Regions from separate parts of the Homo sapiens genome. Here regions 2 and 3 are each linked to region 1. The links are contacts of gene promoters, found by promoter capture Hi-C in blood cells and fetal thymus (Javierre and others, 2016). All regions are on one chromosome and are shown on one strand. The core of a region is centred on a gene start or on the middle of the fragment in contact, and the rest is flanking DNA. Distances in the headings are between cores, read along the strand shown.

The links. Contacts are between HindIII fragments. The CHiCAGO score rates a contact against its expected background, and 5 or more counts as called.
Region 2: a contact is called between a fragment that was not itself captured here and the fragment with the promoter of EGFLAM-AS1 in region 1, in 1 of 17 cell types (non-activated CD4 T cells). The highest score is 9.3, in non-activated CD4 T cells.
Region 3: a fragment that was not itself captured here is called in contact with the fragment with the promoter of EGFLAM-AS1 in region 1 in 1 of 17 cell types (naive CD4 T cells); the score reaches 6.1 in naive CD4 T cells.

Annotation. Positions count from the first base shown.
Region 1 is chr5:38,425,807-38,428,782 of GRCh38, reverse strand. It overlaps EGFLAM-AS1 (EGFLAM antisense RNA 1), which reads left to right and starts at 1,407. Exons shown (of 2, transcript NR_046737.1): 1 at 1,407-1,691. It overlaps EGFLAM (EGF like, fibronectin type III and laminin G domains), which reads right to left. Exons shown (of 22, transcript NM_152403.4): 14 at 1,531-1,774. RefSeq lists an enhancer at 986-2,185. The HindIII fragment of the contact is 14,108 bases long and covers 1-2,976 here.
Region 2 is chr5:39,549,791-39,552,877 of GRCh38, reverse strand. No RefSeq gene overlaps it. Among named protein-coding and RNA genes, the nearest start is that of LINC02104, 31 kb to the right of the region's middle. The HindIII fragment of the contact is 6,628 bases long and covers 1-3,087 here.
Region 3 is chr5:39,568,753-39,571,897 of GRCh38, reverse strand. It overlaps the pseudogene CFAP53P1. Among named protein-coding and RNA genes, the nearest start is that of LINC02104, 50 kb to the right of the region's middle. The HindIII fragment of the contact is 6,095 bases long and covers 1-3,145 here.

The DNA.
Region 1 (2,976 bases), core at 158-2,657:
AATAAGCACAGAGTTATGAAAGAGAGAAATGCTGGACTTCTAAGGGTTCCATGTGCTTGTGACCCCACAGCTGGAGCTGCCACTGCAGAGAGGCAGTGTGGAGGGGGTAGTCTGTCCAGGAGGAGGGCTGATGAGCCCAGAACCTCTCCTGGATCTTTCTGGTCATTCCCTATCCAGGAAGAAAACCATTTAAAAGTGCAAGGTGATATTCAAGGTGTCTTCCTTTGTCAACTTGACATACAGTTCTAAGTGAATTGCTTAGGCTATTTTGCATAATCATATGTAAATTGAATCAATTAAATCCCCACCAAAGTTGTCTTGAAATATAGGATGTTTTTGCATAACCAGAGGTACAACAATATTTGTCCGTTCCCCTAGAGGGGAAGGTGTCACTGATGTGCAGGAATTCAGCCACAAGGACAAAAACAAACCATCCTTTTTAAGAACTGTTAAAACCTAATGCAGTGAGCATTTTCTATCAGCCAGGAAAAATGATCAGTAGTTAAGGGCAATGCATGGTTGTAGCATCTCACCTACATACTCTTTTTAAACATGACAGTCTAGCAATATGGATAAAGATTGAAAACAGTTTGCAATATTCTTTGAAACAACAGACTAACTGATACCCTGTTACAGGGCACCATGGAGCAAAACATCCTAGTGAGTTTCAAAAAAGACGAATTAGACAAATGTAGGAACAAGAAGCATGTCTGCATGCGATTAGTGGCCCCTCTGGCTTGAAGGTTAAAACTACCATCAACACAATAAAAAGATGGGAGACATAAACAAATAAAAGCGTCTGCATCTACCAACTACAGGCTCCAAGGAACAATCGACCTGCTAAGTAATTTAATAGTACAAACTAGATAACAGTAGGAAAGTTTTGACTACTTACACCAATTCTGCAAATACCAGCAAGTACTGCAGAAGCACCCATTTCCTGCTATGCTATTGAAACCACTCATCACACATCTTTCTTGAGCATATTGCTTAGGGAACGGGTCTCTGCATTGCTGATGATTCACTGTCAATTTCCATTAAAGAAATAGTTCAAGAGGAAAGTGAATATTTAGAGTGAGGTCATCAAGGATATTTTTGTTCAAAAATATTTGTTAATACTTTTTTACTAGTTGACATGTATTTGCTGGGTGCCCATCATGTGATGCTCTGTATGAGATGCTGACTAGTTACAGTTCATCAAGTTTCTGCGGATGACATGACATAACTTTAGGTGGAAATGGAGGCAGTTTACCTCCACCTGAAGCAAGTCCATTTTCCATAGTTTGAAGCATACAATTGCTACCTGTTGGGTAGTTATTTGAGAAAAGGAAGCCTTGTGGGCAGGAGAGCACTCTCTATAGGAAGCCTGTCATCTGCCTGAAGCAGGACAAGTCAGGACAAGTTTCAGAAGATAAGCATGTAGAGAAGACAGGATGAGTGTGAGCTGTTGAATGGCGATTTGGTTTTTTTCTGAAGCAGTTACTATTTGCCTTTTTAAGGGAAAGAGTCCCAGAAGTTTTCAGCCCTCACCTGAGGACACCGGTCCCAGAGCCACAGTCAAAGCGGAACTCCACGTGGCCCCCTGCCAAGTTGATGGACAGGAAGTCTTTGCTGCCTGTGTCATAGCTGTACAGGAGGACACCATCTCCTGAGTCTGGCCGAAATGTGATCTCAAATTCCATGAAGGAAAGGTAATGCTGGGGCTCCAGTGGCCAGGGAGTTGCAGCGTAAGATCTCAGAGACTCTCTGAACTGAGGAATGGTCAAGGTGAAAGCTGAAAAAACAAGCATGGTGTTAGAAATCCCTCTGTGGCAGAAACTGGCCAGATGTGCACCCATAGCTGTGTTCTTTCCCTCCTGGGTACAGACCTAAACTACAATTCCCAGCAGCCCTGCAGTTAGGTTGGTGGTGTGACTGAATTCTGGCCAGTAGAACATGGGTGGAAGAATCATAGAGCACCCTAAGTCTGGCCCCTAAAACTTCCCTCCATCCTCCATGCTCTTTCTCTCCTCTCACGTGCTGGCAGGATGCAAGTATCAGTGGAGGACTCTAAGGCCCTAGAAGAGCCATTAGATGGAAGGAAACTGTGTCCCTGTATAACTGTGTGGAGCAGAACCCCCTCTCTCACCACCATCTTTGACCTGCAGTGATTTTGTAATATGAGCAAGAACCAGCCTTGATTATGTAAGGCTACTGAAATATGAGCTGGTATGTAACAGCATTGGCTTACCCTGACTCACATGCCCTCTTTTAGGTGACATGAGATTTGAGATCACAAAAGTTTTCCCCAATATGGTATCTTAGGTCCAAATCTGAATTAGGGAAGAATTTGACTAGTTTTGTGATCTTAGCCTCAGTTTTATTTTCTTTTTATTTTAATTTCAGAATTCTGCAAAAATGATTTTCCAAAATCACTTTTGGAACCCTCCATGATTTTCCAAAATCTTTGAAATTTTCTGTTATTATTTGCCTGTGTGAGCGCACATATGTGTATTTGTGTGCATGTGTTTCCATGTTTATATACACATGTGTGTGCATGTATATATATTTACATACTCTCTGTATATACAGTATTAAAATGTGGCATAATTTAGTAGAACAGTACAAAAAAAGGTTACTTTTGTCCCATCACATTGTTAACGTTTCTGTGTCTACCTTCCCTATCTTTTTTTTTTTTCCCAAGATGGAGTCTCGCTCTGTCACCCAGATTGGAGTACAGTGGTGCTATCTCGGCTCACTGCAACCTCCGCCTCCTGGGTTCAAGCAATTCTCCTGCCTCAGCCTCCCGAGTAGCTGGGATTACAGCTGTGCACCACCACACCCAGCTAATTTTTGTATTTTTAGTAGAAACGGAGTTTCACCACGTTGGCCTCGTGATCCGCCCACCTCGGCCTCCCAGAGTGCTGGGATTATAGGCGTGAGCCACTGCGCCTGGCCTCATCTTCCCAATCTTTTATCAGAAATTGACAGAAATTC
Region 2 (3,087 bases), core at 322-2,821, 1.1 Mb before region 1:
CTGCACAGCAAAAGAAACTACCATCAGAGTGAACAGGCAACCTACAGAATGGGAGAAAATTTTTGCAACCTACTCATCTGACAAAGGGCTAATATCCAGAATCTACAATGAACTCAAACAAATTTACAAGAAAAAACAAACAACCCCATCAAAAAGTGGGTGAAGGATATGAACAGACACTTCTCAAAAGAAGACATTTATGCAGCCAAAAAACACATGAAAAAATGCTCATCATCACTGGCCATCAGAGAAATGCAAATCAAGACTGTGTTTTATAGCAAGCAATTTGGAGTCTCTTAAACCTAAGAATGACCAAATATGTCATGATGACTGACAGAGTTCTCTTCCAAAGGCAGAAAAAAAATCATCCTCCAATGAATTAATCTTAAGGTAGCAGTGGTGGGGGAGGGAAATGCTTTTTAATTACAGGTCCATTAACTATGGTTGTTTGTTGTACCAGTCAATTGCTCCTAAGATACAGAGTTGATCCCACAGCCACCACAATGTCCAGGGCAGGTTTTCACCTGGAGCTACAAAGTATAATTCCACATACTGTGGGCAGGAGTAGCGTGATTAATGAAAGGAATGATAAAGGGTTTGAGGTATGGCTGCTTGTTTGTTCGTGTCTTTTAGTTTTCCATTGCAGAAGATTCTTGCAGGTTATATTCACCCTGGAAAGTCTTTTGATCTCACCACATGCCAGCATTTTACATAAACACCATCCACAGTAGTAGAAAGAAGCCCATCTTGAGTATTGATTCCCTACACACACACACACATGACATATATATGTGAGAGGAAAGGAAGGAGGATGTAGGAAGAGTCTCAGGCTACACTGCAATTCCAAGGAATGTTCAGCCAAGTAAATGGGGAATCTTCAAGTCAAAGCCATCTTTTGATGGGCCCCATATCTCACAGTTATGGTCTGCATTGGTACCACTGTACCCCCACTGGTACGTGTGTGTGTGTGTGTGTGTGTGTGTGTGTGTGTGTGTGCTTTTGGGGGACAGGAGACTGGTTTAAGTCTCCTTTCAAAATATTAACTATTTATTTACTTCTCTAAGTAAATCCATTCACAACTTCTCACTACAGAGTAAGAAAAAAAAAAGAAAATCTTTTTTTTTTTTTGAGACAGAGTCTTACTCTGTCACCAGGCTGGAGTGCAGTGACTCAGTCTCAGTTCACTGCAACCTCCGCCTCCTGGGTTCAAGCAATTCTCCTGCCTCAGCCTCCCAAGTAGCTGGGACTACAGGCGTATGCCACCACACCCAGCTAATTTTTGTATTTTTAGTAGAGACAGGGTTTCACCGTGTTGGCCAGGACGGTCTTGATCTCTTGACCTCATGATCCACCCACCTCAGCATCCCAAAGTGCTGGTATTACAGGTGTGAGCCACTGCACCTGGCCAAAAAAGAAGACTTTCTTAGGAGAAAATGGGATATGCCTTTACAGAACCAAAAGAATAGGCATAATGTGACCGACTGTATGATTAGAAACAAATCATCTATTAGACTCAGCAGGAAATAGAACTGGAATAATGGCTGAAGGATTATAGAAAAAAATATATGAGAGCCTTGTTTCTTTAGGGTGTTAGGAAGCTCTCCTAATGAACTATTTTATTCATAAAATATTTTAGAATATTTTAACAGAACAATAAATAGTAGTCATCTGGAAAAAAAAATCAGTTCTATTCCTTGGCCCACAGATAGAAAAAGAACTTGTGTGCAATGCAGGCCATTCCTATGAGACATGGAATCTTCCAGAACTACAGAAAAGATTGTCAATTTCTGAGTCCAACAAAAACAGAGTGGCATTAATTATTGTCATCTCAGATTTTCACCTTCTCACAGCAACACCATAGTATGCTTACTTATTCATACACTCAACCAATGCCGATTTGAAAGTCACATGACAGTTCAGAGGATGGACCCTGGCTCTATCCCATTACTACCTGAGTGATGGTAACAAAGTCACTTAATCTCTCTAGGTCTCAGTTTCCTTACTTTAAAACGAGAATGATAATAGTCCTGACCTCATAGGATTTTTGTGAAGATTTAATGAACTAATGTAGGTGTGGTGGCCATGCTGTGAGAGCATAATTGATTAACAACCCCAACTACTGTTCTTTTCGCCATCATATTCCCACAGGGCTGCTCATGGCCAATGATCAAACATAGTGGGGCTACCAATGCAGACCGCTGCTGTGAGATATGGGGCCCCTCAAAAGATGGCTTTGGCTTGAAGATTCCCCATTGGCTTGTCTGAACATTCCTTGAAATTGCATTGCAGCTGGAGACTCTTTCTACCTAATCCTCCTTCCTTCCCTCTCTTCTGCCACAGGTGTCAGACCATCACTGTGGTATGAAGCATCCTGACACTTTCTGCTACTCCCTCCTGTTTTATTCTCCACAGGCTTTCATCCAACCCTAATACATTTTTTTTTCATTTTGTCCCATCAAGATGTATCCAAAGTAACACAATAGGTAAAACCAACATCTGATATGTAATAAGTTCTCAATAAAAACTATTGTTTATTATTATTAACAAATAGAATGAGAGCTGGTATAAACATGGGATGCCTGGAGAAATTCAGAGGAAGAAAATGTTATTTCAAACCAAGCATTCAGAAAGATTTTATGTATGAGATAGATTTTGAGCTAGCTGGAAAGATCTCTGAAGTGGGGTCTATTGAATATCGGGGAGGAGCAATTTCAGCTAGGAGAATAATAAAAGCAGAAACATGAAGGAGGGGTAATAGAAATGCTTCCAGATTGGCTGGAGTGTAGGGTACATGTGCAGTTGTAGTTCCATATAAGTCTAGATAAGTAGGTTGGGGATGGACTATGGAGGGAGATTTATATTAGTCAATTTTGCTATCATAATAAGTAAACCTGAAATCTCAGTGGTTTATGACAAAAGATATTTTTTTCTCATTTGTATTATATGTTGGTGAGTATGGATCAGCTGCTATGATTCTGTTTCATGTGACTTCTCATCTTAGCCTGTGACCCGGGCTGAAGGAGCAGTCCCTGATTTGGGAAACATGGTTTCCTAAGGAAAAGGACTGGCAGAAATACAGGAAAAGGG
Region 3 (3,145 bases), core at 484-2,983, 1.1 Mb before region 1:
TGGCCAAGGACAGGAAGGTAAGATTCGAAAAGGAGGCAAGGAAACAACTTGTGAATGAGGTTATGTGTACAGGAAAAGTTCAAGTTCAAGAAACATTGCAAAGAAAAGCAAAATAATAGAAAAGATATGCTATGGAACAGGATTGCATAAATGAAGGTTTTAAAGAACTTAAGGATGAAGAGGAGAATTTTGGAGATGCAGTGGTTTAGCTTAGGAGTATAAGAGACAACTGCAAACGCAAATATTCCACCAGCAGCAGGCCCGGGAAGCAGAGAAGAAAGAGGAACACTGAGTGTTTGAAGCAGGGATAACAGCAAACAGGATTTGCCAGGACAAAATTCAGGAGATACCAAGCACCTATCAAGTGCTATCCAGAAATACTCATTTTATGTGGGAAGTATGCCCTAATAGGCTTCCAGCATAGTTTCTTGAACATTAATATATTTTTCCTCATCCTGGTGTGGTCCCACAGGCTGTCTGGTACTATTATTATTAGGAGGGAGATACCTTAGAATTGGCAGGCCTATCTCCCAGGCAATTGTAAATTGTCAGACAAAGAAGATATGTTTCATTTTGTTGATGACAACAAGCCAACCAGCTGCAATCCTGGAATTAATGGATGGGGAGAGGAGTCACAAGATTCTCGGGCTCCTCCCAGATCTTGAGATAAAAGAAAGGTTCACCTCAGCATGTCACAACTCTTTAGACTATGGAAGACCCTCCTAGGGTCACTGAGGTGCTGGCCTGGGCAGCTGGTTGACCTTCTCAAGCATCTGGAGTATCCTTGGATTTTCCACCAGGCTCCCCCAGATGTACTGGTCTCTTGTCAGGTCTAGGATGTTTCAGCTCCCCTATCCCAGAGCCTTATAAGGAAAATCATTTCGCTGCTCCTAGACTGTCTCAGGAGCACTTGGAGCTTTGGTTTGCAGATAGGATCTCCTCTCTTTTCTGACTCTATGATTGGCAAACAACTCCTTTCCTCTTTTCTGCCCCAAGCATATGCAAACTGACACATCTGCCCAGTGATGACCTTAGGAGAAGAAAGGAGTCAAGCACCTATACTTAGGTTTGAAAACTATTTATTAGATTTTTGATTTTATAAAGTTTTACTTCTTTCTCATTACATTATAAGCTCTTTGAGACTAGGCACTTTATCTTTTAATTCTCTCTTATCCACTTTTATCATGCTAGTCAGTTAAAATTTGAAATTCAATAAATATCTTCTGCTCCCAAAATTCACATTAGAACACTTTTACAAACAATTCCAAGTGATACCGCTAGATGGAGGACTTGATATAGTTCCTCCGCCTAAGAAAAGCAAAGCAAAACTCTTATGAGGTGACTCTGAGATTTCCAGATCTGAATTTTTATTGCATGTTAAATTTAGTAAGGATCCCCTCATTTGAAAGAGGTAGGTAAAATTCTCACTTAGGCCTTAAGAAATTGTTCTATGAGTGAAGGAGAGAACGAGTAACTTCCCAGCCCACACCTCACAGCATTAGCAAAGTAAAATGTTTATTTCAGAAAGTGAGAATAGATATCAGGAAGGGGTGGCGGGGTGGGGAGAAGACACTATGCTTAAAAAAAATAGGTTCTTCCTCCAAGAGTTTATCATCTGGGGTTTTTATTTAAAGTTTTTCTCAGATGCTATTTTGCTATTTGTTAAATGCCATTAAAAGAGAGAGAGAGAGACAGTAAGAGGGAGAGAGAGACAAAAGTCAGTCCCTATTCTGCCTCCAGGAAGTGCTGGGAAACTTGCAATGCTTCATTGACCTTGGCTGTCCACCTTATTCCACTGAAATAGCCAGGTGATTTTCTCTAAGTGTAAATGCCTGGAACTCTTTTGTGGATGCTAATAGGTAAGAGGAAACTGCTCACTGTGACCACTTTTCAAGGGTCAAAAGTCAACGTTCACATTAGCTTTGTTAAAATACAGTCTGGTGACTTGCTCAATCCAGTATGATGTTGGTTCGTCTTTAGTACTACCCTCGGAGGAAGGTGGAAGAATTAAAAAGAATCCAAGAGGAATTCTTTTTAATCAGTTTTTAAAATTGCCTTCATTCGACACTGAACAGAAACTCAGAGAACTTCAATACATGCTTCATTTTGGAGCAAAAAGATATAGTGACTCAGATTAAATGAAAGTATGTCTTAGATTATCTAACCAAGTAAACAGTATTTGGTTTTGTAAATAAAGCAGTTTGTGAGAGACATACTGACCTATAAGTAGGAGTGATATCCCTTGGTGCAGTTCTCCTGGTTAACCAGGTTTTACAAGCACAGGTTGGCCATGCTTCTTTCTGCAGTTGTCTGCAACCTGGACTTGCCCAAAGCATGGAATCGTATTCACTGGTAAAGACACTAGTTAGGTAGCCACAAGAATATAGTCAGTTTAAATGAGCATTTTTGGCTGGCTGGGCTAGGATGGGACACTGATGCTTCCAGAATTCCCACTATGAGATTGCTTATTGTTGTGCCTTTTCTTGGAAAGAAGAGGCAGGACTGGTGGTTTGTCTGAGACCCTTAGACTACAGGAGGAGTGCTAGAACCTGCCAGAACTGGGTTTCATTCACTCATCCCAAAGAAGATTTTTGGAACAGAATCAGAAGCAGCTAGACCTACTCAACAGAGACTTAGAAAGACCAGAGCTTTTAAAGCTCAGGCAGCAAAGTATGGTAGAGAATTTGGGAGAAGGCTGTTCACTATGTCCCCAAATCAGCAATAATATATGCTGATTACCTGATTGAAACTTTTGGAGATGTCTGGAGACAGAAAGGCATGAGTGTCTTCCTGGGTGATTGGCAGTGACGGTGGTTCCTTTTTCTCAGTCAGCTTTGTGGACAGCTGCTGTGCACAAGCAAGTGAGGAAAATAGAGGAGACGCCACGCCATGTCCAGAAAATGGCCTACTTATGCTCCCTGCATACGTTTTGCCAATTCCTGACAATGGTCACCTTTCTTTCTTGAGTTAATAGGCAAAATAATACATTATTTGTTGAGAACATTCCTTGCGCCAGTCACTTGACATAGATTATTTTTATTTAACTTCACAGTAATCCTATGAAATGCTAATATTACTCCATTTTACAGGTGAGAAAACAGTCCCAGGGAAGGTAAGTACCCAAGGTCCCACAGCTAATAAAAAG